Linked DNA regions of Homo sapiens: regions 1, 3, 4, 5, 6 and 7 are each linked to region 2. Evidence: promoter capture Hi-C in 16 types of primary human blood cells and fetal thymus (Javierre and others, 2016). All regions are on one chromosome and are shown on one strand. The core of a region is centred on a gene start or on the middle of the fragment in contact, and the rest is flanking DNA. Distances in the headings are between cores, read along the strand shown. Region 1 overlaps ZNF385C (zinc finger protein 385C). Region 2 holds the start of CAVIN1 (caveolae associated protein 1). Region 3 overlaps DNAJC7 (DnaJ heat shock protein family (Hsp40) member C7). Region 4 overlaps CNP (2'',3''-cyclic nucleotide 3'' phosphodiesterase). Region 5 overlaps ZNF385C (zinc finger protein 385C). Region 6 overlaps DNAJC7 (DnaJ heat shock protein family (Hsp40) member C7). Region 7 overlaps ZNF385C (zinc finger protein 385C).

Region 1 (3,558 bases), core at 321-2,820, 390 kb after region 2:
CCAAGGCAGGCGGATCATTTTGAGGGCAGGAGTTCGAGACCAGCCTGGCCAACATGGTGAAACCCTGTCTCTACTAAAAATAACAAAAATTAGCCAGACGTAGTGGTGGGCGCCTGTAATCCCAGCTACTCGGGAGGCTGAGGCAGCAGAATCACTTGAACCTGAGAGGTGGAAGTTGCAGTGAGCTGAGATCATGCCACTGCACTCCAGCCTGGGCGACAGAGCAGTATTCCATCTTATAAAAAAAAAAAAAAAAAAAAAAAAAGGTCGTCAGCAGCCTCAGGCCCTGTGACAGTGATAGAGCTGATGAGATAGGACTTATCTTCCCCCAGCCCACAGGTCCCTGCATGAAGCCTGGGTGATGGGAGAGGAAATTCCAACAGACGAGTTCTTTGTCTCTTCCCTGCCTCTCCTTGTTTCCAACTCTCTGTCCCAATAGTTGTAATTATTGCAAAGGAGAAAAACAAAAAACAAAAATAATGACCTAAGGGGCACCAAGAGATGCCAAGGTGATCACCAGGACATGGTTCTATGTCCCAGAAACATGCAGGGCACTCTGGCCATTCCCCTGCTTCCAAGCAGAAGCCTAGGCTGACAAATAAAGACAGCCGGGAGAGGCTGTGTATTTTTCTTTTCTTTTCTTTTCCTTTCTTTTCTTTTCTCTTCTCTTTTTTTTTTTTTTTTTTTTTGAGACAGAGTCTCACTCTGTTGCCCAGGCTGGAGTGCAGTGGCGCAATCTCAGCTCACTGCAACCTCTGCCTCTGAGGTTCAAGCCTCCTGCCTCAGCCTCCTGAGTAGCTGAGACTACAGGCACGTGCCACCACACCTGGCTAATTTTTGTATTTTTAGTAGAGAAGGAGTTTCTCTTGGCCAGGCTGGTCTTGAACTCCTGACCTCAGGTGATTCACCCATCTTGGCCTCCCAAAGTGATGGGATTACAGGCGTGAGCCACTGCACCCAGGCAGCTGTTTCTTCTTCTTTCTTTCCTTTTCTTTTTCTTTTTCTTTTCTTTTTTTTTTTTTTGAGACGAAGTTTCGCTCTTGTTGCCCAGGCTGGAGTGTAATGGCCTGCTCTCGGTTCACCGCAACCTCCATCTCCCTGGTTCAAGCAATTCTCCTGCCTCAGCCTCCCGAGTAGCTGAGATTACAGGCATGCGCCATCACACCTGGCTAATTTTGTATTTTTTTTTTAGTAGAGATGGGGTTTCTCCATGTTGGTCAGGCTGGTCTTGAACTCCCAACCTGAGGTGATCTGCCTGCCTCGGCCTCCCAAAGTGCTGGGATTACAGGTGTGAGCCACCGCGCCTGGCCCAGCTGTTTCTCTTTCCAACATCCACAGGATGGAAAAGTTCTTCCTAGAAGCTGACCAAGGCCCTCTTCAGTCATCTTTAGTTTTGGGCATTTTGTGCTGCCCCCGACCCCTGCTTCCCAAGCCAACCCCAGAGTTATTATGCCCTCCCACTCCCTTCACAGATGGACCCGGTCCAGAAAGCTGTCATCAGCCACACGTTTGGTGTCCCCTCCCCTCTGAAGAAGAAGCTGTTCATTTCCTGTAACATCTGTCACCTGAGGTTCAACTCAGCGGTGAGACAAAGTAGTGAAAGCAGGTCTGGGGAGGGGGCTGGGCAGGGAGAGGGCTGGAGGCTGGGCTTTCAGAGTCCTTCTGGGAGGAATATCAGTGGCAAAGGGGCTGTGGTCGGTATTTTCCACCCTGGCTGCAGAAGAGGCACTCTTGGTCCTTTAACCATCGCATCCTCTCCTCTCTCTAGATTCTTCTGCCCCTTCCCCTTCTGCCCAGCTGTAGCCCAGTGGGATTCCATTTCCTTCCCCCCAGGCCTCTCTCCTGTGTTCTGGATCCTTCTGCAAGAGAGAAGACTGCCCTTCCTCCACTCCAGGTCCCAGTGGCCCATCTCATCAGCTCCTGGTCTGGAGCTGAGCTCTTAAGGCACCTGAGAGTTTACAGAATGTGATCATGCCCATCCCCTTAAATAATAGTTTTCATGATACATCTGTGAGACGGGTGGAGGCGGGATTTTTTTGTTTTGTTTTGTTTTTTTAGACAAGGTCTCACTCTGTCACCCAGGCGGGAGTGCAGTGGCGCAATCTTGGCTCACTGCAGCCTCCACCTCCAGGGTTCAAGTGATTCTTGTGCCTCAGCTTCCCTAGTAGCTGGGATTACAGGCATGTGCTACCACGCCTGGCTAATTTTTTTATATTTTTGGCAGATACAGGGTTTCACCATGTTGCCCAAGCTGGTCTCGAACTCCTGGGCTCAAGTGATCCACCCACCTCAACCTCCCAACATGCTGGGATTACAGGTGTGAGCCACCGCGCCTGGCCTAGAGGCGCTATTATAATCCCCGATTTTCAGATGAGGAAAGTGAGCCTTAGAGAGGTTAAGTGACTTGCCTAAGACCACACAGCTGGTAAGTAGCAAAGCTGGGATATGAATCCAGGCCTGGCTGACCCCAAGGTCTATGACTTTCTACTACAGCCTACCCCTTTCTACTACATCTTACCACTAGGTAGAGGAGGAACCTCATTCTGGCCTCCCAGGGAAGGTCTACCTCCTGTTAGGCAATCTGGGGTTTCGGTTGGATGCCAGCAGAACTGCTGTGGTATAGCATCCAGGGAGGGGCCATGGGGGCCTGTCTTTCCCATGTTTCAAGGAGGTGGGCCGGGGAGCAGCAAGTGAGGACCCTTGGAGGGAGGACACTGACAGACCAGATTTGAGGATTCCCTTCAGGCCTTCTGGTTCCATGAGTCCTGCAAGAGATGGAGGAGAGGCTGGGCGTGGTGGCTCATGCCTGTAATCCCAGCACTTTGGGAGGCCAAGGTGGGTGGATCACTTGAGGTCAGGAGTTAGAGACCAGCCTGGCCAACATGGTGAAACCCCATCTCTACTAAAATACAGAAGAAAAAAAAAAAAGCAGCCAGTTGTGGTGACAGGTGCCTGTAATCCCAGCTACTCGGGAGGCTGAGGCAGGAGAATCGCTTGAACCCAGGAGGCAGAGGTTACAGTGAGCCTAGATTGCTCCCGTTGCACTCCAGCCTGGGTGACAAAGCGAGATTCCGTCTCAAAAAAAAAAAAAGATGGAGGAGAGAATTCGTTCTGAGGGAGGAACCATTCTTCTTCCTGCCGGACCCCGGGCACAGTGCCTGGCAAATAGCAAATGCTCAGTAATGACTTGTTGAACAAATGAACAAAGGGATGAATGTTCTGGGGTACATACACCCCAAAGTGTGGGGATTGCTCTGCTTTCTCCATTTGTGCATTGATACACTTGATAACTAACATTCATTGAGCACCTACTCTATGTACTCGGCCCTTGTAATTCATGTTCCCATGTAATTCTGACAACCCCATGAGGTCAGTATTATCATCACAGGGTTTATGGGTGAGGAGACTCAGGCTCAGAGAGATGTTACTTGCCTAAAGATGTAGTTAGTGGCCAGGCGTGGTGGCTCACGCCTGTAATCCCAGCACTTTGGGAGGCTGAGGCGGGTGGATCACGAGGCAGGAGATCGAGACCATCCTGGCTAATATGGTGAAACCCCG
Region 2 (3,931 bases), core at 817-3,316:
GGGGAGGATGGGCAGCCTCCCTATTTCTGGACTTTCTGCACTAAGGACCCTCCTTGGGCCTGCTCAGAATTGCCTGCTCCCTTGTACCCAGCATGGATGAAAATATGCTTTGGTTAATCTTCTGAAACAGCACATGGGAGTTGGGGAGTGGCTGTGGGTGCCTGTCTCCCTGCCCCAGTGGAAGGCTTAGAGCAGAAGGTGGAAAGAGCATGAAAGCAGGAGTCCAGACCTGGGTTCAAGTGCCAATGCCAACACTAACCTGCGAGTGATCTCTGGCAAGCCACCTGTCTTCTGCAGGCTTTCCTTTTCCTGTCTGTCAAATGAGGGGGTGGGATTTGATGGTCTCTCCGATGGCTTACTGTTAGTCCCTGGAATCTTGAAAGAGAAATGGACTCCTAGATCCTGCTCACTGAGATTGGTGTCAGCTGCCTCTGAGGGGGCGGTGGGAGGGGGAACACAGGGAAAGGTGAGTTTTAGAGAGAGGTGAGACGTGGGTTTGTGGGTTGCTTTTGTTTTTGTTTTTTTTGTTTTTTTGAGACAGAGTCTCACTCTGTCTGCACTCAGACAGTGGATTACCAACTGGCAGATTACCAACTTACTTTAGAATTTAGGAGAAATGTATTAAAGTAATTTAAATTCCTTCTACTAAGGATTGAAAAAGCTTTTGGAAAAAAGAGGAATTCTACTCTGTAGAATTCCACTCAGGCTGGAGTGCAATGGCGCGAATCTCAGCTCATTGCAACCTCTGCCCCCCGGGTTCAAGTGATTCTCCTGCCTCAGCCTCCCGAATAGCTGGGATTACAGGCATGCGCCACCACGCCTGGCTAATTTTGTATTTTTAGTAGAGATGGGGTTTCTCCATGTTGGTCAGGCTGAGGTCGAACTCCCGACCTCAGGTGATCCACCCACCTCCGCCTCCCAAAATGAGCCACTGCGCCTGGCCTAATTTTTGTATTTGTAACAGAGACGGGGTTTCACCATCTTGGGCCAGGCTGGTCTTGAACTCCTGACCTCGTGATCCACCCGCCTGGGCCTCCCAAAGTGCTGGGATTACAGGCATGAGCCACCGCGCCTGGCCTAAGAGAGGTGGGCTTTTAAAAAGGGCTTTACACCAGGCGCGGTGGCTCCCAGCACTTTGAGAGGCTGAAACCAGCAGATCACTTGAGCTCAGGAGTTCGAGACCAGCCTGGTCAAAATAGTGTACACCCCGTCTCTTAAAAAAATAAAAATTGAAAAAAATAAAAATTGAAATTAGCTGGGCGTGGTGGCAAGCGCCTATAGTCTCATCTACTCAGGAGGCTGAAGTGGGAGGATTGCCTGAGCCCAAGAGGTCGAGGCTGCAGTGAACTGTGATCAGACCGCTGCACTCCAGCCTGGGTGACAGAGTGACACCCTGTCTCAGAAAGGGGGGTTGGGAGGTGGGCTTTATTTTCCGTTTGATTGCCCATCTTAATTCTACTCTGTTAGGGCAATTCTAAAAAGAACTTAGAGGAGCTTCGCAGCCCTTCACCACCACCGTGACCCCAAATACGTTCTCTCTTTCTCCCCCCGCCCCCCACAAACAACCCCCTAAGCTTACCCCTGAGTTAGTAACCTGGTTGGGGTTGGTGATGAGGAAATCCGAGAGGCCTCTTAGAAAATATTGTAAAGGGCAAGGGTCCTTTTGTGCTCAAAATCTAGGTAAAGGCAAATACAAGATTTTGCCTATAATTTCAGAATCTCCTGGTCCACCCGGCTCCCAGATCTTGAGGATTTTCGGATGAGCAATTCAAGTGAGAGGGAAACAGAGAGCAACACTCTTAGAACCTGATTCCGTTCCTCAGCTCGCATTCCTCCGCCCGTCCCGCTCCCGCCGCCAGCGGAGGCCCTAGTCTCCCGCTCCAACTATTCCAACCATCCCGGGAAGGGTGGGGCGCTCGGCTCTTGGGTCCCCCTCCGCCGCCCCGCCTCGTCGATCTCCCCTTCTGCCCCGGTCCCTCCCTTTCTGGGGTGGGGCCAGCCAATCAGCGATCAGACTCCGGAGTTTGGCCCGGGAGCTGGGGAGCTCACCGATCCCCCGCCCAGCAGTTCTGGCCGCTGTCCCGGTGCGCACGGACGTGGCTCGAGTTTCCTCTGCTCTCCGCTCTCGCCCGCTAGCTCTCCTCCCTTCCGCTCCTGCTTCTCTCCGGGTCTCCCGCTCCAGCTCCAGCCCCACCCGGCCGGTCCCGCACGGCTCCGGGTAGCCATGGAGGACCCCACGCTCTATATTGTCGAGCGGCCGCTTCCCGGGTACCCCGACGCCGAGGCCCCGGAGCCTTCCTCCGCTGGGGCTCAGGCAGCGGAGGAGCCGTCGGGGGCCGGCTCAGAAGAGCTGATCAAGTCGGACCAGGTGAACGGCGTGCTGGTGCTGAGCCTCCTGGACAAAATCATCGGGGCCGTAGACCAGATCCAGCTGACTCAAGCACAGCTGGAGGAGCGGCAGGCGGAGATGGAGGGCGCAGTGCAGAGCATCCAGGGCGAGCTGAGCAAGCTGGGCAAGGCGCACGCCACCACGAGCAATACGGTGAGCAAGCTGCTGGAGAAGGTGCGCAAGGTCAGCGTCAACGTGAAGACCGTGCGCGGCAGCCTGGAGCGCCAGGCGGGGCAGATCAAGAAGCTGGAGGTCAACGAGGCCGAGCTGCTGCGGCGCCGCAACTTTAAAGTCATGATCTACCAGGTGAGCCCACAGGGCGGAAGGCGCCCAGAGCTCCCGCGCCCGGCCCGCGTCCCCTGCCTGGGAGTTGGGGTGGGGAGACCTGCCCGTGGCGCTGCTCCCCTCCCAGCCTGGCCCGGGCGCCCGGCAGATCCACCCTCCTTCCGGTGAGCGCGGCTGGGGTGGGGTTGGGTGGGGTAGGATGGGGTGGAGGGAGCGGCGGACTCCTGGGGCGCGTAGAGGGGCGCGCTCTGCACCTCGCACCTCCCCACTCAGATCCTTCCCTCGGGTCCCAAACTTGTAGCAGAACCGAATTAGCGGGTGGACTCGAGGACGCTGCCCCTCGCAGACCGCTCCCTCCCTAATTGGCTCTGTCAAACTTCTTCCTACTTGGGGGAAGTTTCTAGGAAAGTCAGGGGTCCCTCGCGATCGTTGGGGTCCGCTGTAAGCGGACACTGGCTGCGGGGCCCGGGCCTGGGGCCTCTGCGCCTGCGGGCCTGATATAGCGGGTGATTCAGGGCTCAGGCACGCACCAGCGGGGGCTGTGCCAAGCGGGGAACGCGACCGCCAACCTCCTCCCCAGACCCTGCGCCCCCGCGCCCCCACATCGGCCTCGGCGGCCCACCCCTGTCCCCTCGCTGCTCTCTGCTCCTGGCCACCAGGCATTTTCAGGCCCTTGAGGACACCCTCACCCGCGGCGCGCTGGCACCCTGGGCCTCCTGGAAGCGGGCGGGGCTGGGCGGGGAAGAGTGGGCGTCAGGAGTGCAAGAGGGGCTGGTGGAGTGGGTGGACAGCCCCTGCGGGGTCCGGCGGTCTGGGCGCAGTCTGGGCGAGGTGAATCACCCCGCATGCCTGCGGGGGCGGGGGCCAGGCGCAGCAGCGCAGCCGGCGGGAGGAGGCTGGCGCCCCCACCCCCCGGCTCCGCCCGGGGCCACTTGTTGCTTTCTTTGCAGCTCTCCCCATTCTTCACACTTGGATAAAAATGTAGCTTTTGGATCATAACCCCCAATAAACCTGGGAGTCTCGGGTTTCTATGCTGCTCCTCTCCACGCCGCTTCCGCAGTGCCATCGGGGATGAGATTTTGGGCTGGGCGGCAAGTGTTCCAGCCTGGCTCCTCCCCGCCTCCCAAAGGCCTGCTGATGCTCCTAACCCCAGGGAGGCGGGATCGTGTGGGGCAGGGGGGTTAGTCTATGCTCCCCTCTCCCCTTCCTCTCCCTGCTGAAGGGAATGGAAAGAAAGGGAAGGCTGGATTTCCCACA
Region 3 (3,673 bases), core at 651-3,150, 440 kb after region 2:
TTTTTGTGGTTTTGTTTGTTTGTTTAAGGTAGTCCTTTTCCTTCTACTCCACTGGTTGGCACACTTTCTGCAAAGGGCCAGATTTTAGCCTTTGCAGGCCACAGGGTCTCTGTTGCAACTAACTCAACTCTGCCATTGCAGTGCAAAGGTTGCCCTAGATAATAGATGAACCAATGGGTGTGGCTGTTTGAATAGTGTTTTATTTACAAAAACCAGTGGCAGAAAGGATTTGGCCCTGTGGGCTGTAGTTTGCCAAACCCTGTTCTAGTTTAATAAGGATTGTAAGACACAAGATGTGTATTAAAGATAATTATAGGTGGTTTATTTGGGGAAAGTTTGGGAACAGTTCTTGGGAATCTGTCTACCTTTGGATATTTTGAATGCTAGACACATGGTCAAGGAGGAAAACTGGCCACAAATGGTAGTAATGGTGGGGACATTCTAAAGCACAGCTCAATGTGCCCTTTTCTGACTATTGCAGTGACATTCTACGAATGGATTCCACCAATGCAGATGCTCTGTATGTACGAGGTCTTTGCCTTTATTACGAAGATTGTATTGAGAAGGCAGTTCAGTTTTTCGTACAGGCTCTCAGGATGGCTCCTGACCACGAGAAGGCCTGCATTGCCTGCAGAGTAAGTTCTAGTCACCAGACCTAACTGGGAAAGAGCTTCCTTTTGGGACCTTTAAGATGGCTAGAGTGGAAGGTTTTAGAATCACAAGGAATGTGATAGCTTTTCCTCCTGCTTTGCAAGGATGCTTGGTCTTTATTAGAAATGGTTTCAGGACTACTTGTATTTACCTAAAGGTAGATGTGATCATATAGGGTCGGATGCCTTTAATATCTAAGAGGGTTTTTTTGTTTTGTTTTTCCCCTCAGTGAAGATAGATAGTAATACTTGTCCTGAGAAGTGAAGGCAGACCCAGTAACATAGGTCTCATTGGTATTTTTGGTAACTCTTTTCCTGTCCACTCTGTAGGAAGCTCAAATGAGCAACAGATAGCCCAGATTGGGGGTTGGCGGGGCTCTGTGATGCTGAACTGCTGGAAGCAAAGAACTTGAAAATAGAGTCTGGCCTCTCTGTGCAATGGTCTGAGGCTTTGTGGATATGAACCGATCCTCCCCTTGCTTTTTTCTGTAGAATGCCAAAGCACTCAAAGCAAAGAAAGAAGATGGGAATAAAGCATTTAAGGAAGGAAATTACAAACTAGCATATGAACTGTACACAGAAGCCCTGGGGATAGACCCCAACAATATAAAAACAAATGCTAAACTCTACTGTAATCGGGGTACGGTTAATTCCAAGGTAAGCTCTTGATCTAGATCTTGGGGCCTATAGAAATATTTTTAAGGGACATCAAAGGGTCTTGGGAAATCTGCCTAGTGAGGGTAAGCAAGATGAAAGAGGGAAAGTTGTTATGGTTAATAGTTTGTTAGGAACTCCCTTCCAAGAGGCAAGCTTTTGTCATCTCTATGGAATTTGAGGGCAGTTGGACAATTTGCAAGGATATTCTCACCTGTTCATTAAGGTCCCTTTCCTCCAGTAAGAGAATGGCTAGGGTCTGTGGGATAATCTTAAGCACCTACTGTTGCTTTTTTGTTGTTTTGCTTATGCAAGTGATCATTTATTTTTTAGGAGTGATTTGGAGGAAGAGTATGAGGCAAGCTTGTTTTTCTCCAGTGTAATTGATGGTCACCATGCATGGTTGAAAATGGCCTGAGTGCTTTTGTGGCCCTACCCAACATCAGAAACAAAAAGTAGACTCCTTGCCCTTGCAGAATTCTAGCAGTTAAAAATCAGAGTGATTTCTGATCCCTGCAGGTGACCTCTGGAAAAAAGGAGGGCAGGAACCAGCCTTACTATTTTCATGTTTTCATTGGGCACTAACATGGAATGGTAAAGGTAGTTTATCCTTGAAGACAGATGTGCCTGGCTTGTATCATATACAAGAGAAATCAATTTTGAAGTTGCTGTCCATAGCCCTGGTGACAAAGAACTAGAACTTAATATGACATTTAAGGGGCCAGCATGACTGATCCTCTTAGAGTTTTGAAGCCATGCTCACAGCTTCTGGGCTCCCTCAGTCACCAAAGGTGTGAAGTATGATTGCTCTCTCTCTCCTGAAGCTTAGGAAACTAGATGATGCAATAGAAGACTGCACAAATGCAGTGAAGCTTGATGACACTTACATAAAAGCCTACTTGAGAAGAGCTCAGTGGTAAGTGCCTCTGATGGGTAGGGGGAAGAGGGAGTTGCCGCTGGCCTCAGGGGAATTGCCTTGTGGATGACGAAGCAGACCCAGAGATGTTGTGAGGTCATTTGGTCCTTCCCCCTGCCTCTAGGTGGGATTGTTCCAGCCCTAGACTATCTTTATAGACCTCCAGCGGAGGAGATTGCACAAGCTCCCTCAGTCTCCCATGCCTGTGTCTAACGCCCCTCACGGTCAGTAAGTTTCCTCTGATGCCTGACCCAAATTCCTTTTGTTAAAAAGTTTAAATCCATTTCCTTTGGAGATTTTATTTTGTGTTGTACACTTATGCTCTACCCTGGCACAGTGCTTGACACATAGGTGCTCACTGAATAAATGTTTTGTTGAATGAATGTATGGTGCTTGGAAGAGAAAACAACTCTTGGAGACAGTTGAGAGTTGTACTTCATCCTGTTTGTTCTGGGCGAGGGAAGACAATCTTAGAGTTGGAAGAGATGTAATCCGGCTCAGCCTCCCAGGATAAAGGAACTTCCTTTTGAAACACCCTGGATGGCTACTCTCTGCTTGAGTGTTTTGAGTGGAGGGCACTCTGTGTCTGACAGGGTGATTATGAGCCAGGATGTGCCTACCTCTAATGCTCACATTTGCCCCAGAGTCAGGGTGCTCCCTGGCATGGTTGCTCCTCTTACTCTTAGACCCACCAGCTGGTTTTCTCCAGATAGGAACAGGGCTAGGAGAAATCTTTCTCAGAAATCCATCTCTTCTGATTTCAGATTATTCTCTAGGCGGAGAAAAACTTCCCGTCTTTAAAGTTCTTAGAGAAGATGTATTTATTGTATACTAATCCTCCAGCACCTGCTCCACTCCTTATTATAAAATGTCATATCCAAAGAACAGATGCTGTCACTGATGCCTGATGAGCCAGTAGTTTAAGCTTCCTTGTCTCATCAGTGGTACAGAATATCTCATGGACTACCTCCCACTTAGTTTTCTCAAAATTATCTCACTTAAAATAGGAAAACTGCTGCTGTGTGTGATGCTTTTTTTAAAAGTGAATTTCTAAGTTGATGACTAAGTCTGTCCAACAGAAACATACAGGGAATTATAACTTCTGTGAGACTGACTGTCAGTCATTCCATCTTTGCAAACCACTGGCACACAGAAGCAGAAGCTTTGGAAGACAAAAAAAGCACCCTTTGATTCAGCCAAAGACTGACTTTAACAGACGCAAAATGCTATATACATGAAGGTGTTTGCTGCAATTTTATCTATAATAGCAAAAAAAAAAAAAAAAAAAGGCGGGGGGAGAATCACCTACATGTCCAGTGGGAAGGGGGTGGCTAGATACTTGATACTGTATGAACTTAATGGAATGCTCTGTATATGGAATGCCAGGGGATGGGAAGAGAAGAGAAAAATCGCTTTGTTTTATTTTTTGGGATGGAGTCTCGCTATGTCGCTC
Region 4 (3,735 bases), core at 355-2,854, 450 kb after region 2:
CCCTGGGACCCAGACAGCGCCCTGGAGGACAGGGTGAGGTCAGACTGAGGTCAGACTCGCCCTTGATGGAAACCTGCTCTTACACTTTGGTTCCCATCTGATGATATGTCTGCTTCTATCTGATTCTTTGAGACAGCCCATCCCATCTCAGCATAAACGCTTTTCTATTTTTGCTCACGATCCCTTGTCCCAACAGTGTCTGGCATGAAATGGGTAGTTAATAAATGCTAAATGAAGGCATGGTTAGGGATGGTAGCTCAGGTGTTACATATTCATTCCACTATGCTAGGGTGCTGGAACCACAGGAGTCAACGAAACTTAAAAACTCGCCCTCAGGGGAGCTTCCATTTGGGAGGACACTCTAGTGAACAAACAAACGATTGTGCTAACCTAGGCAGAGAAGTGGGAGAGTGGGCTTGGGGGTGGACACTTGGAAGTTGGAGACTGTGGATATGGGTGACATGCCTGGCATTCAGGGATCACTGTCAGTGGCTGTGGGTGTAAGGTGCCAGCTGTGTGGTGCAGAAAGGTCTCGTACCCATTAGCCAATAAGCTTCATTATCGTATGAAACTCCCTCACTCTGGGGCCAGGCCAGACCTCAGACCTGGGGACAGGGATGGGGACCTCAGTGCACCAGGCTCCCTGGGGGCGAAGGACTCCTAGTCTTTGGAAGGTAAAACAGGCTCAGAGAGACCAGAGCAGGAGCCCACTGTGGACCAGCATTCTCCATGAATCTGCAGAAGGCGAAGGTGCTTGGGGGCAGGTGAATGCACAGGCTGGCAGTACTGCCAGGGCAGGCTCCTTAGAACCTGCGGCTGAGGTCTATGCAGCTACGCCTGGGGACAGGGGAGCTAGGAGGAGGAGATGCCATTTTTCTTGAGCTGCCATCTGGTTTTTGGTCCCTGCCTGGCACCGGTACCTATCTTCAGAAGATGCTGCAGCCCCTTCTCCCCCAACCTCCCACCTCCCCCATGTGTCCCTGGGGAAGACTCACATCTTGTTGAGCGTACTCCTCTGCCCCGGGAGCCTTCCCGTAGTCACAAAACTTGGTTGTGCAATGCAGCACGCCTGGGGGTCTCTTTCCAAAGTAGGTGACCAAGTCCATCTTCTCCCTGGGCTCATCCCCAGGGACGACTGCCGGGAGAAAACGGGTGCAGTCAGGGCAGGGGAGCAGGGGCATACCAACATCCGCCACCAGGACCACCGAGGCCCAGCGCAAAACACTCGGACACTAAGCATCACCTCTCCAGCAACCCACTACAGCTCATTCATTGGTTAGTTGGTCAAACTAATGGCAACTTTAGAGCAATAAAAAGTTAAAATTCTCAGGCCAGGTGCGGTGGTTCACACCTGTAATCCCAGCACTCTGGGAGGCCGAGGTGGGTGGATCACAAGGTCAGGAATTCAAGACCAGCCTGGCCAAGATGGTGAAACCCCGTCTCTACTAAAAATACAAAGAAATTAGCCAGGCGTGGTGGCGGGCGCCTGTAATCCCAGCTACTTGGGAGGCTGAGGTAGAGAATTGCTTGAACCCAGGAGGCAGAGGATACAGCGAGCCGAGATAGTGCCACTGCACTCCAGCCTAGGCAACAGAGCAAGACTCCGTCTCCAAAAAAAAAAAAAAAAAAGTTAAAATTCTCTGGCTTTACATTGTATAGATCTTTCCATCTCTTCTCCAAACTCTAAGGCATTTGTAACAGAGGCAGGCAGTACAGGCCAAGGGAATCTAAGATTTACTAGCACCACGTCTCAAAGGGGAAGCAAGTCATGGGAAGTGGGGTGGAAAGAAAACAGAGGGCTGGGAACAACATGGTACGGTGGAAACAGCCAGAACACAGTGAATATCTCAGCTCTGCCATGTACCAGCCATCGGCCTCGGGCAAGTGACCAACCCTATCTATCAATCCAGCACAACAGTTAGGGTGACCATATACCCCAGTGTTCCCAGGACCACCAGGGAACTATCAGTAGTGCCCCATTTCACTCAGGGGCCCATCTGGACAAGCAGTCACAACGTCACCATCAGTTTAATACACACCTTGCAGGCCTATGGGGGGGCCTCCTGGTACAGGAAGGGTCTTGGACTATAATGGGGTGACATTATGGGGCTGGAAGACACAAAGAGGAGTGGAGTATCTGTGATTTTGATTTCCAGACTCCACACCTGTGGCTGTCTTTGGAGTCACTCGCTTTTTCCTGTTATGTTCTGAATTGAGTCCCCATGAGGATGTCTCGCCCTCCACAGGGGAGGAAGGCCTCTCCTGAGAGCAGCCTTGCTGGCCCATTACATTTCTCCTGCTCTAATCCTGGGCAGAAAAATCCAGTTTTCCTTTACAAATAAAATAGGCTGGGCATAGTGGCTCGCACCTGTAATCCCGGCAATTTGGGAAATTGAGGCGGGGCGTTTGAGACCAGCCTGGCCAACATGGTGAAACCCTGTCTCTACTAAAAATTTATAAATTAGCCAGGTATGGTGGCGGGTGCCTGTAATCCCAGCTACTTGGGTGGCTGAGGCAGGAGAATTGCTTGAACCCGGGAGATGGAGGTTGCAGTAAGCCGAATTGCCCCACTGCACTCCAGCCTGGGCGACAGAGCAAGACCCCCGTCTCAAAAAAAAAAAAAAAAAAGATCTGGCAATCATCCTGTCAAGCTTGATTCGTCCCATCTTGGGCCAAGGGCCCCTCCTTTCTTTTGTGCTACCGACCAGCCTGGTCAAGATGGTGAAACCCTGTCTCTACTAAAAATACAAAAATAAAAAAAAATTAGCCGGGCATGGTGGCAGGCGCCTGTATTCCCAGCTACTTGGGAAGCTGAGGCAGAGAATTGGCTTGAACCCAGGAGGCGGAGGTTGCAGTGAGCCGAGATCATGCCACTGCACTCCAGCCTGGGCAACAGAGCAAGACTCCGTCTCATAAATAAATATTAAAAGCAACTTTGAGCAGTAGTCACTCCAGGGCAGAGCCACCAGCTCACAGGTACAGGGCTTGCTCCTGGCCAATGTCACTGCAAGCACCACAGTTCACTGCAGAGTTCAAGTTTAGGAGCTGAGAAAAAAGCTCTCTGAGAACCCATACAGGCACAAATTCCCTGCTTCTGTGCAATATACACAATGTCAACAAACCAGAGTGGGGCTATTTCAGGCATGAAGATCATCTAAAATTGGGGGTGGCTGGGTGCGGTGGTGGCTCACGCCTGTAATCCCAGCACTTTGGGAGGCCAAGGCAAGCGGATCACCTGAGGTCAGGAGTTCAATACCAGCCTGGCCAACATTGTGAAACTCCGTCTCTACTAAAAATACAAAAATTAGCTGGACGTGGTGGTGCACACCTGTAGTCCTAGCTACTCGAGAGGCTGAGGCAGGAGAATTGCTTGAATCTGGGAGGCAGAGGTTGCACTGAGCTGAGATAGCGCCACTGCACTCCAGCCTGGGCAACAGAGGGAGACTCCGTGTCACAATAAATAAATAAATAAAATTGGAGGCAACCAGAAATGGCCTAAAGGCATATAGATGGATTAGTGGGTGGCACTTCTCCAACAGGTCACTCCAGGAGAGCCACCAGGACCCTTCTTTATCTCAAACCTATCATTGGAGCAAAAAGCCCATGCCAAGAGAGAACCCTGCTAGAGTGGCCAGAGTCCAGGGTTCCAGCCCGTAAACCCCACATCCCTCCTGGGTCCATGTTTTTCCATCTGAAAACGGGTTTTGGCCTAAGTGTGAGACTTGTGTCCTCTGG
Region 5 (3,776 bases), core at 783-3,282, 350 kb after region 2:
GCAGTGGCATGATCATGGCTCACTGCAGCCTCAATCTCCCGTCTCAGTCTCCCCAGTAGTTGGGATTACAGGTGTGCACCAGCATGCCCAGCTAATTTTTGTTCATATATGTGTGTATATATATATATATGTATATATATATATATTTTTTTTTTTTTTTTTGCGAGACAGGGTTTTGTCATGTTTCTCAGGCTGGTCTCAAACTCCTGGGCTCAAGCAATCCACCCACCTGGTCCTTCCATCCTTCCAAGGTGCCGAGATTACAGGCATGAGCCACCGTGCCGGGCTAGTATATTCTGTTATCTTATTTAATCTTCTCAGACATCAGCCTTGAGTCAGAGGAGTTATTATTAGGCATTGTTGTTACCATTATCTCCATTTTACAGACAGGAAACTAAGATGTGAAGAGAAGGGACAAGTTCCCAGTCACACGATTAGTGGCGAAGTTGCAACGTAAACACATTTGCCTGACTTCAAGTTACTCCAGTTCCCCGCAGTCCCTCCAAATTACACCCGCAGACACACATGCTCACCTCTCTCCCCCACCTCCTCCCCCTTCCATCTTACCACAACCCTGAGGCCACCCCCAGGGAGATCATCCTGTCCATGCCCCTGCCTCTGCCCCAGTGCAGTGGAGCCTCCACGTGGCCTGTATCTGGAGCTCATCTGGTCATGGTCCAGGAGAAGGTGACAGTGGGAAAGTCGGGGGAGTCAAGGGTGTCAGCTGCTGCTGCTTCTTTTTGAGCAAAGACTTTGAAAGTTTAATGTGATAATCTCATCCTGATTACTGCAAACTGAGGTCCTTGGGCTTGTCCAAGAATCCATTACCAACCTCACATGAGGAGCAGGGAGGTTGCACTGGGTTCCCCGCCTCCCTGCTCCCCCAGTCCCCCATGCATACTGGGAAGGATCTGAGTGTTGGTTGAATTTTTTTTTTTTTCTTAATGGAAAGAAGGTGTTTCTGGATCATGGTAGAGATTCTAGGCTTCCTACCTCAGGACCTGGACCAGGAGACCCCAGCCCTTTCCTTTTACATCTGGGAATTTAATATCCTAAAAAGTGCGACTGGTTAGTAGGTTGTGAGGCCAGTCAGAAGGCGTAGAAAATCAGCCCAGCCAGGGATCCCTGGCCCTTGCATCCCCCCACCCCAATACACCGCCAGGGAAACTGAGGCCTGTTACTGTTGTCTCCACATCATCTCTGCCCAGAAGCAAACCAATTAGCACTGTGTCTGGTTCTGTGTTCCCAGTGCCTGTCTCATTATTTGGGGATTTATGTCCCGGTCACTGTGAAGGACAACTGTCCCGGTTTCCACTGGGGGAGCCTGGCTGGCGCTGGAGCCCAGCAGTGGCAGGAGGTGGTGCCGTCCTCCTTGGGGCAGGATGGGGATTTGATTTCAGGGGGATTTGCAACCAGTGGGGAGCCGCCCTGGGCACATGGTGGCTCTGGGCTATTTTAGGAGGCAAAATGTGGGGGGAGGGGTCACAGTGGACTTGTTCAAGCCACTAGAGAGTCTGCCCTTTCAGTGGGGGCAGAAAGAACCCATGATGGGTGGGGTGGGACAGGCCTACCCACTGTTGGGGCCTCTCCCACCCTCCTAGAGCCCAGGAGTCCAGAATGACGCCACCCGTCCTAGCCCCAGTCTGGGCTGTGGGCCGAGCAGGGAAGCTGCTGGCTGGGCCGGGGTCTCTGCTCCTTGCCTGAGTCCCTTTGTTACAGGCTTTGCTTCAGCTGGGGCCCTTAGTGTTATTATTATGAACAATTCTTTTAACCACCTCTTATCTTTGTAGTAGAAATGTTACTTATTGAACATTTGGGAAAGGCCCCAGGAGCAAGAAAAAGGGCACAGCCTTAAATCCAGGCCCATCAGCTGCTGTTCGGTATGGGCCTCTTCCAAGCTGTGTAATGTTGAGGGTTGCATAAGTTCCTTCACCTCTCTGAGCCTCAATGTCCCTCTCTCTAAAGCCGGGACCAGCAACACCTAATTAATAATGCCCCTACTATTAGTTGGGCACATATTATATGGGGTACTTTGCAGGCATGATGTCACACCATCCTCTACACCGTTACCTGTTAATTGCCCTGTTTTAGAGATAAGGAAACTGAAGCTCAGAGAGGGGAAGTAACTTGCCTAAACTCACACAGTCAGAGCAAGGTGCCTGATCCATTTCTCTTTGCACCTACAGTGAGAGTTGGTTCATTCCTCAAATCCAGCAATATGTCTTTGTTACTTTCTGTGTGTCAGGCACTGTTCTAGGGCTGAAGAGTCATCCACAGACAAAACAGAGGAAGAGGAGACAGTGGATAAGACTGGCCAGTAGTGAGAGCTGGAATAGTCAAACTGGAGACTCAGAGGCTTTATTTAGACTAAGCGTCATTTTCTGGAGTGGGGAGGGCAATATTTAAGGGGCCTGAATCCCTCACTGGGCAAGTGGAAGGTGGACCAGGAAGGGCTAGCACCACCTCACACCCCCAGCTCTCCATTACCAGGAAGAGCTTTTTCATTTGTTCTTCCTCTTCACCCCACCTTTGTAGGAAAAAAGTTACTGGGCATATTGGGATAAGGCCTTTAGAAGCACCATGGTATAAAGGAAAGAGACACCCTATGCTTTGGAGTCATCCAATGGGGTCCAAATCCCCACTCTGCCCCTTTCTAGCTGTGTGACCTTGGGCAGGTAAGTTAACTTCTCAGAGCCTCCCCTTCTTTGTTTTTTTTGTGTGTTTGTTTGAGACAGAGTCTCATTTTATCGCCCAGGCTGGAGTGCAGTGGCGCGATCTTGGCTCACTGCCAGCTCCGCCCCCCGGGTTCACACCATTCTCCTGCCTCAGCCTCCTGAGTAGCTGGGACTACAGGCACCCGCCACCACGCCCAGCTAATTTTTTTGTATTTTTAGTAGAGATGGGGTTTCACCGTGTTAGCCAGGATGGTCTCGATCTCCTGACCTCGTGATCCACCCGCCTCGGCCTCCCAAAGTGCTGGGATTACAGGCGTGAGCCACCGCGCCCGGCCAGAGCCTCCCCCTCTTTATCTTCAAAATCTGGAGAGTAGTAGCAAACTTTCAGGGTTAGTAGGGGATGAAATGAGTGGGAAAGGGCATGGGAAGGATCTGGCACACAGAAGGCCCACAATAGACGGCAGTGTTTTGCCTGCGTGCAGAGTTGGAGTTTAGGGGTGTGTTATTCCTAGGTATCTAGGTGAAGCCACGTCTTTGTGGGTGGCACTAAGCTGGCACCTGTGGTCCTGCTGAATGATTTCAATAGGCTAAGCAGAATGGGAGAGCCAGCAAGCCCAAACATACGGTCTGGGCCTCCCAGCGCAGGAAACTACCATTCACTCGGGGGCTGGGATAGGGAGGCTGAACTCACCAGTGCATCACGTGAAAATAGACCTGGGGGTTTCAAGGACGCTCAGCTCTATGTAAAGCTAGTTCAAGGCTGAAGAAAAACTGAGGGATGGGCAGCATTCACAGAGGAGGGCAGAGATGGGGGGAGGTTGTGCTGTCCCTTTTTCTGTTCTATGGAGGATACCAAAAGCCTAAAAGAGTTTAGAGGAATGTGCTAGGCACAGTGGCTCACGCCTGTAATCCCAGCACTTTGAGAGGCCAAGGCAGGTGGATCATGAGGTCAGGAGATCGAGACCATCCTGGCTAACACGGTGAAACCCTGTCTCTACTAAAAATACAAAAAATGAGCTGGGCGTGGTGGTGGGCGCCTGTAGTCCCAGCTACTGGGGAGGCTGAGGCAGGAGAATGGTGTGAACCCGGGAGGCGGAGCTT
Region 6 (3,561 bases), core at 111-2,610, 410 kb after region 2:
TGAGGCGGTGATGTAGAATTAGTTCATGAGATCTGAAATCAGGATTCTGAGATTTTTACTATCTAATGAGTTCGAAATATAAGAAGTACTCGGACGCAATGAATAGTTATCAAGCTTGAGGGTGGTTACCACAGCCAGATCTCAAGTTCCTGATCTGCTGGGAGCTGAGGGGCCTGACAAAGTGTAATAGGCCCCTGGGATATCAGAGAAGCCAGGACACCAGAGTCCAGTCTCTGTTCTTAATTTTGAGCTTTCATGTTGTTCCTACTTCTTCCTAGATATTTAAAGCTAAGCATCATCAACCCTTATACATCATTAAAGAGCTGCACAATGGGAAACAAAATTCCTCCCAGTGCAGACGGAGCTTAAATTAATTGTAGAGATTTACTTGTATTTGGAAAGAGTTCAGTGGTTCTTTATACTGTAAATAGGGATTTGGCCACAGGTTATTTATTTTTTATTTTTTGAGACGGAATCTCGCTCTGTCGCCCAGGCTGGAGTGTAGTGGCGCGACCTCAGCTCACTGCAAGCTCCGCCTCCTGAGTTCACACCATTCTCCTGCCTCAGCCTCACCAGTTGCTGGGACTACACGTGCCCACCACCACATCCGGCTAATTGTTGTTTTTTTTTTGTATTTTTAGTAGAGATGGGGTTTCACCCTGTTAGCCACGATGGTCTCGATCTCCTGACCTCGTGATCCGCCCACCTCGGCCTCCCAAAGTGCTGGGATTACAGGCGTGAGCTACTGTGCCGGGCTGGCCATAGGTAATTTTAAAAACTCACCCTACTCATTGTAAATCTCTGATGTAGAGTGTCCCTATTTTGGACTTCATTTCATAGCCTCCTATCTTAAGCAAATACATTTCTTCAATCACAGCCTTAGAGGATAGTCTATCATAAAATTGGAGTAAATGAACCTGAAGACATATAATAAAATAGGTTATGCTGTAATGTGACCACATCACACAAAACATGGTATTTGATAGCAGTACAACAAAATAAGGTAAACTACCTTATTTCATGGAATTTAAGTGTCATTAGGCTGGGTGCAGTAGCTCACACCTGTAATCCCAGCACTTTGGGAGGCCGAGGCAGGTGGGTCAGCTGAGGTCGGGAGTTTGAAACCAGCATGGCCAACATGGCAGAACCCTGTCTCTACTAAAAATACAAAAATTAGCGGGGCGTGGTGGCACACACATGTAATCCCAGTTACACGGGAGGCTGAGGCAGGAGAATCGCTTGAACTCAGGAGGTGGAGGTTGCAGTGAGCTGAGATCGGGCCATTGCACTCCAGCCTGGGTGACAAAGTGAGATTCCATCTCAAAAAAAAGTCATTGATTGCAGAATGCAAATTATTTTATCTGTCACTAAGAAAATGTAACTGTAAATTAAACATGACAACATGCATTATTCCTGTAGTTCAAATAGTGACAGAAAAAAATTAATTAAAAAAAGAAAAAAGACTGGGCGTGGTGGCTCACACCTGTAATCCCAGCACTTTGGGAGGCCAAGGCGGGTGGATTACCTGAGGTCAGGAGTTCGAAACCAGCCTGACTAATACGGTGAAACCCCATCTACTAAAAATACAAAAATTAGCCAGGTGGGGTGATGCTGTAATCCCAGCTAGTCAGGAGGCTGAGGCAGAGGTTGTGGTGAGGGGAGATCATGCCATTGCACTCCAGCCTGGGCAACAAGAGCAAAACTCCGTCTCAAAAAAAAAAAAATCAATTAAAAAAAGAAAAAAATGCATTCTTATCAGACTTTTATGTTTCTCATATATAGCACTGTTTTCGACAGACTTAAACATAGTTATTTATTATATACCACTTTTTTGCACAAATCAAAAGGAAAATTGGCTGGGTGCAGTGGCTCACACTTGTAATCCCATCATTTTGGGAGGCTGAGGTGGGCGGATCACGAGGTCAGGAGTTTGAGACCAGCCTGGCCAACATGGTGAAACCCCATCTCTACTAAAAATAGAAAAAATAGCTGGGCGTAGTGGTGGGCACCTGTAATCCCAGCTACTCGGGAGTCTGAGGCAGGAGAGTCGCTTGAACCCGGGAGGCGGAGGTTGCAGTGAGCCAAGGTCACACCATTGCACTCCAGCCTGGGCGACATGGTGAGACTCCATTTCAAAAAAAAAAAAGGAAAATAAGTGAAATAAACAAAAAAATCAGTTTAACTTTTTGCCATATCAGACATCCTTAGAAGAATAAACATTGGCCGGGCGCGGTGGCTTATGCCTATAATCCCAGCACTTTGGGAGGCTAAAGCAGGCTGATCACCTGAGGTCGGGAGTTTGAGACCAGCCTGACCAACATGGAGAAACCCCATCTCTACTAAAAATAGAAAAAAAAAATTAGCCAGGCATGGCGGTGCATGCCTGTAGCCCCACCGACTTGGAGGCTGAGGCAGGAGAATCACTTGAATCCGGTAGGCGGAGGTTGCGGTGAGCCGAGATCGTGCCATTGCACTCCAACCTGGGCGACAAGAGTGAAACTCTGTCTCAAAAAAAAGAATAAACATTAGGCTCTGTTAGTATGAAAAAGCCTTGTTTATGTATGATTTTTCCAGTGCTGAAAATGGGATGGAGATTTAGAAGCTTTGGAGGGAGGTGGTTTTATGTTTTTCATGTGTCCTGGATTCCTCTTGTGTGGCCATAGCAGAGGGCAGTGATAGGGGCATCCCTTACAAATGCCCTTTTACTGTCTGGCTTGGTTAGAGTTCTTTGGCCAAGTTCCTGCCTCTGTTGTTATGGTCCTCCTACCAGTTCATTTAGGGATCAAGAGTTAATGAGTCTCTCGGGTCGTTTTTGTGAGGTCCAGCTTTGTAAGGAGTCCTTCCTTCCTTACGTCTTGGCTTAAGACATGTCCTGCTGCTGCTAAGTTGTCACAGTCCCATAGGGGGGCAAAATGAGAGGAGCTTTTAAGACGGACTTCACGATTGCAGCATTTTAAATGGCTACATGTTTTATTTCCTTAGCTTTAGTGTTTCTGTAGAGAAAAGAGATGGATTTCAATTTTTTTGCATGTCACTCTGACAAAGTTCTGTTTCCCTTACAGCAGCCAAGAAACTAAAATAAGGCTAGGCTTAGTGGCTCATGCCTGTAATCTTAGCACTTTGTGAGGCCAAAATGAGAGGATCGCTTAAGCCCAGTAGTTTGAGACCAGCCTGGGCAACATAGTGAGACTTAGTCTCTATAAAAACATTTAAGGCTGGGTGCGGTGGCTCACGCCTGTAATTCCAGCACCTTGGGAGGCTGAGGCCAGTGGATTGCTTGAGGCCAGGAGTTCGAGACCAACCTGGGCAACGTGGTGAAACCCGCCCCCCATCTCTGTAAAAAAAAAATACAAAAATTAGCAGGGTGTGATGGTGCATACCTGTAGGCCCTGCTACTTGGGACGCTGAGGTGTAAGTATCACCTGAGCTGGGGGAGGTCGAGGCTGCAGTGAGCTGCGATCACACCACTGCACTGCATCCTGGGTGACAGAGTGAAACCCTGTCTCAAAAAAAAGGGTTGGGGCTAAAATAAAAGATATATTAGTTGGCACTCCAAAACAG
Region 7 (3,394 bases), core at 497-2,996, 330 kb after region 2:
TGCTCAGAGCTCTGAGCCACTAAGGAGAGGCAGCCTTTGGGTCTTGGTGCTGGGTTGAAGTAGAGCAGAGGACCCTGGATTATAGAACAAAGGGAAGTCAGGACATTGCTGTCTGGGTCCAGCTGGGACCCCAGGGACCTTCCTGAGATCATCGCAAGCCTTTGGACAGACACGGGTGACAATGGGGGGAGGGGGGCTTCCTTGTCTGTCTAGATTCCCCATTCCATTGCCTCATTTCACCACACAAACCATCAGAGGCAGAAGTTCGTTCTCATATCCGACCTTCATCCCTTCTGGGTCTGTGCCAGCTTCTTGCTTCTGGGAGGCCATGTGCTCTAGTGGAAAGAGTGGGGGCTTTGGGGTCAGTTAGAGCTGAGTTCTGACACCTCTACCTACTGCGTGACCTTGAACAAGTTTCTTAACCTCTTTGAGTTCACTTAATCACCTGTAAAATGGGGATAATAATAGAACCCACCTCATAGAGTGGCTGCAAGGGTTAAATGAGGGTACACATGTAGAGCGCTTAGCACAGTGCCTGGAGCCTGGCGAGGGCTCAGAAAGTACCAGTGTCCCCTCATGTGTGGGACAGCAAAGCCGATCTGCAGGGAGTGAGAGCGAGCAGGGGAGGGGGGAGTGGAAGGGTTTTTTTTTTTTTTTTTTTAGCTAAGCTTGGCTAGAAAGAGTGCCCTTCACTGCATGCCCCCCTACCAGGGGGAACCTGCCCCCTGCTGGTTCCTGGATCTCTGGACCTCTCTGGGCTGCCCAGGGCCCCTCACCTCCTCCTCTTTTAGTCACCTTGTTTGTGTTGCCTTTTGTCTCTGTAGAGGGGAGAGAGTCCCCCCGCCCCCGCCCAAGGCAGGGACCAGTACCAGCAGGAGCTCACTTGGGCTGTGCCTCAGTGGAACAAGCTCTGGCTTGGAGACCCAACCTGAAAAAAATGCCCTCTTGTCATCACTGCTCTGCCCTCCCACCTCCAGGAGTTGGGATCAAGCCGCACTAAATTTTTCCAGGAAGATAAATAATACGAGTGACTGAAAGTCCTGTTTGGGGATTGTCCAAGCTGTCCTCCAGTGAAAGGACAGCTTCAGGCCCTGGCCTGATCTCTAGGCTGCCAGGGAAGGCTGAGTTCAGTAGCACCCTTAAACCTGGGCAAGGGAGGGAGTGCCCATGCCCTAAGCTGGGGGCTTTCAAAGGCTCCACTCTGGCCCTCCTGCTGCCAGTCCTCTCCCTGTGGGATGAGGCATCAGCAGGGCCGAGGGGATGAGACTGTGAGTCCCCTCCAAGACCACATTCTCCATACCTGTGACTCTGGAGGTCCCTGCCTAGATGGTCACCATCTGGCTCCCAGCCCATGCCAGCCTCTTCCCTGGGCCTGTCTGCCTCAGGACAGGTTATGCCAATAGTGTGTGCACCCCTACGGACAGTGAAGGGACAGCTATTTGCAGGGGCTGTGGATGGAGCAAGGACATGAGGCTGGGTGTCCTTATACATGCACAAGAGTCCCTTGTGGTGCAGACAGGACCCGGCAGCAGGAAGGGGGGTGGCCAGGGTGCGAGTGGAGCTGTCTCCTCTGCACAGAGTCATTCTGATGTGTAAAGCTCAGGAGGCAGATAAATCCAAATTTGTATCTGGTCCTCCAGGTTGTTAATGAAGGTGTATTTGTCAGGGTGAGAGGTTAGAACATATTTCACAGTTTGCTGGCTTGATTTATAACTTTTAAATATTTAGACATATGTCTGTGGGCCGCCATTTGTCCCCTTGCCCCAGGCCCTGTGAGTGTTCCAGGTGGGCCTGGCTGGGCCTGTGACTTCAGCTGCCATTTGGTTAATTCCTTCCCCACTCTCCCTGTCCCCCAGTAGAGTAGCACCCCTATAAAACTGGGCTTAGAACATGCTTACCTGGACCAGGACGGAGTTTCAAGGTGAAATGAAGATTGTCAGTTGTCATCAACAAGCAGTTCCCCTGTGGGCCTCCTGACCTCATTATCCACCACAAAACTGGGACAATTTTTTTTTTAATGTCCTGTGATGCTTGAGAGGGAAGGGCTGGGGAGGAGAGGTTACTTCTCTCCTGTGTGTGGTGAGGGTGTGGGTCACTGGACCCCAGGAGCAAGGAGAGAGCTAAATGGGGCCGCAGCAGCAGGAGGGATGGAAGCTAGCCTGGGGGAAAGCCAGGGTTGGACCCCACCATCCCTCTGGCTGCCCTTCTCAGAGGGAGCTGCGCCTGCCACCCGGGAGGGCCCATGTGTCTATCATGTGGGTTCTCCCATGAGTTTGGAGTTTGGGCTTGGGACAGGGGAGACTGTGGGGTCAGCTGGCCAGGCGGCGGGGGTCATCCCCAGCGGGAATGAATGGTACGCTGGTGTTGACTGTAGTCAAGTGCCCTGTGGCACCTGGACACACCGTCTGTTCAGAAGAGGCATGAAACCTTTATTGTGGCTGTCTCTGCTCACTCATTGTTTCTGATTGGGCTATTTGAGGAACAGCCTGCCACGTTGGCCTCATTAGCATCGTGAGGCTCTTAATGGAACTGGATCCACACACGTGTACAGACACTCACAAACTCACTCAGGTACGCATGCCCGCCTGCACTAACCCCCAGAGGTCTGTGTATAGGGTTGTGCGCTCCTAAACCCCACCCCAGGTCAGACCCACCCTGACACACATGGCTTGTGACACCCATACCTTCACCCCAGTCACACTCTCACTGTCCCTTATTGGTGACTTTTCATTCACCTTGGGTGACCCACTGGCTCCAGTGGCCAAGGGCTGGCTTACTAGAGGGTGGCTGGGGGCCAGATGCCGGCAGCGGTTGGTTAAGCTTTTGGGACAGGAGGCAGCAGCATTGCCCTGGTGAGGCCACCCCCAGTGGGGCTCGACCCCCAAGCACTTTGGCTCCCCCCACGTCTCCCAGGAGAGTGTCTCTGGGTCCTGAGGCTGTCTGTCCTTGTGTAGTTCTCGTGAGCCTCTTTCTGCTTCGGCCTGTGAGTGTGTCTGGCCCTGCGCCTCCTGTGTGCTCCCCATCTGTGTCCTTTCCCCTCTCCTGACCCTGTCCTTTGTTATCTCTGTCTCTCCTCTCCACCCGTCTAGCTCTTTTTTCTGTGAGTCTTTCTATGTCTTTTCTTCTTCCTTTTTCTCTGCCTCCTCTGTCTACCCCTTCTCTCTCTGTCCCTCTCTCTCACACTCCCACTCTCAGTGTCTGACTGCGTGGCTATCTCTCTGGGTGGGTCTTTCTGTATCTTCACCTCTCTCTATATCTGCCTGTCAGTCTGGACATGTATCCCTCTGACTCTCTGCCTTAGTCTCTTGAGGAGTCTCGGCAAAAGGAGAGCCAAGAGTCCTGAAAGAAGGTGACAGCCAGGCACGGTGGCTCACGCCTGTAATACTAGCACTTT

The links. The method cuts DNA at HindIII sites, captures the fragments that hold promoters and counts their contacts. A CHiCAGO score of 5 or more calls a contact.
Region 1: a fragment that was not itself captured here is called in contact with the fragment with the promoter of CAVIN1 in region 2 in 3 of 17 cell types (activated CD4 T cells, fetal thymus and naive B cells); the score reaches 8.3 in activated CD4 T cells.
Region 3: a contact is called between a fragment that was not itself captured here and the fragment with the promoter of CAVIN1 in region 2, in 1 of 17 cell types (activated CD4 T cells). The highest score is 5.9, in activated CD4 T cells.
Region 4: a contact is called between a fragment that was not itself captured here and the fragment with the promoter of CAVIN1 in region 2, in 1 of 17 cell types (fetal thymus). The highest score is 5.2, in fetal thymus.
Region 5: a contact is called between a fragment that was not itself captured here and the fragment with the promoter of CAVIN1 in region 2, in 1 of 17 cell types (activated CD4 T cells). The highest score is 8.0, in activated CD4 T cells.
Region 6: a contact is called between a fragment that was not itself captured here and the fragment with the promoter of CAVIN1 in region 2, in 2 of 17 cell types (fetal thymus and activated CD4 T cells). The highest score is 5.8, in fetal thymus.
Region 7: a fragment that was not itself captured here is called in contact with the fragment with the promoter of CAVIN1 in region 2 in 1 of 17 cell types (activated CD4 T cells); the score reaches 5.2 in activated CD4 T cells.

The regions. Positions count from the first base shown.
Region 1 is chr17:42,032,250-42,035,807 of GRCh38, reverse strand. It overlaps ZNF385C (zinc finger protein 385C), which reads left to right. Exons shown (of 9, transcript NM_001392013.1): 4 at 1,473-1,583. Among named protein-coding and RNA genes, the nearest start is that of NKIRAS2, 14 kb to the right of the region's middle. The HindIII fragment of the contact is 5,646 bases long and covers 1-3,558 here.
Region 2 is chr17:42,421,391-42,425,321 of GRCh38, reverse strand. CAVIN1 (caveolae associated protein 1) reads left to right here and starts at 2,066. Exons shown (of 2, transcript NM_012232.6): 1 at 2,066-2,695. The coding sequence starts at 2,225. It overlaps LOC102725238 (a long non-coding RNA gene), which reads right to left and starts at 2,134. Exons shown (of 4, transcript XR_007065758.1): 1 at 2,050-2,134; 2 at 260-431. The HindIII fragment of the contact is 2,664 bases long and covers 1,577-3,931 here.
Region 3 is chr17:41,986,366-41,990,038 of GRCh38, reverse strand. It overlaps DNAJC7 (DnaJ heat shock protein family (Hsp40) member C7), which reads left to right. Exons shown (of 14, transcript NM_003315.4): 7 at 482-635; 8 at 1,143-1,307; 9 at 2,129-2,220. Among named protein-coding and RNA genes, the nearest start is that of CNP, 21 kb to the right of the region's middle. RefSeq lists enhancers at 1,094-1,594, 1,595-2,095. The HindIII fragment of the contact is 461 bases long and covers 1,670-2,130 here.
Region 4 is chr17:41,969,292-41,973,026 of GRCh38, reverse strand. CNP (2'',3''-cyclic nucleotide 3'' phosphodiesterase) reads right to left here. Exons shown (of 4, transcript NM_033133.5): 3 at 996-1,135. Among named protein-coding and RNA genes, the nearest start is that of CNP, 4.4 kb to the right of the region's middle. The HindIII fragment of the contact is 2,098 bases long and covers 556-2,653 here.
Region 5 is chr17:42,075,574-42,079,349 of GRCh38, reverse strand. The region is part of intron 1 of ZNF385C (zinc finger protein 385C); the gene reads left to right. Among named protein-coding and RNA genes, the nearest start is that of ZNF385C, 21 kb to the left of the region's middle. The HindIII fragment of the contact is 6,157 bases long and covers 1-3,776 here.
Region 6 is chr17:42,012,759-42,016,319 of GRCh38, reverse strand. The region is part of intron 1 of DNAJC7 (DnaJ heat shock protein family (Hsp40) member C7); the gene reads left to right. Among named protein-coding and RNA genes, the nearest start is that of DNAJC7, 2.9 kb to the left of the region's middle. The HindIII fragment of the contact is 2,488 bases long and covers 117-2,604 here.
Region 7 is chr17:42,094,243-42,097,636 of GRCh38, reverse strand. All of the region lies in intron 1 of ZNF385C (zinc finger protein 385C), which reads left to right. Among named protein-coding and RNA genes, the nearest start is that of ZNF385C, 2.5 kb to the left of the region's middle. The HindIII fragment of the contact is 2,152 bases long and covers 671-2,822 here.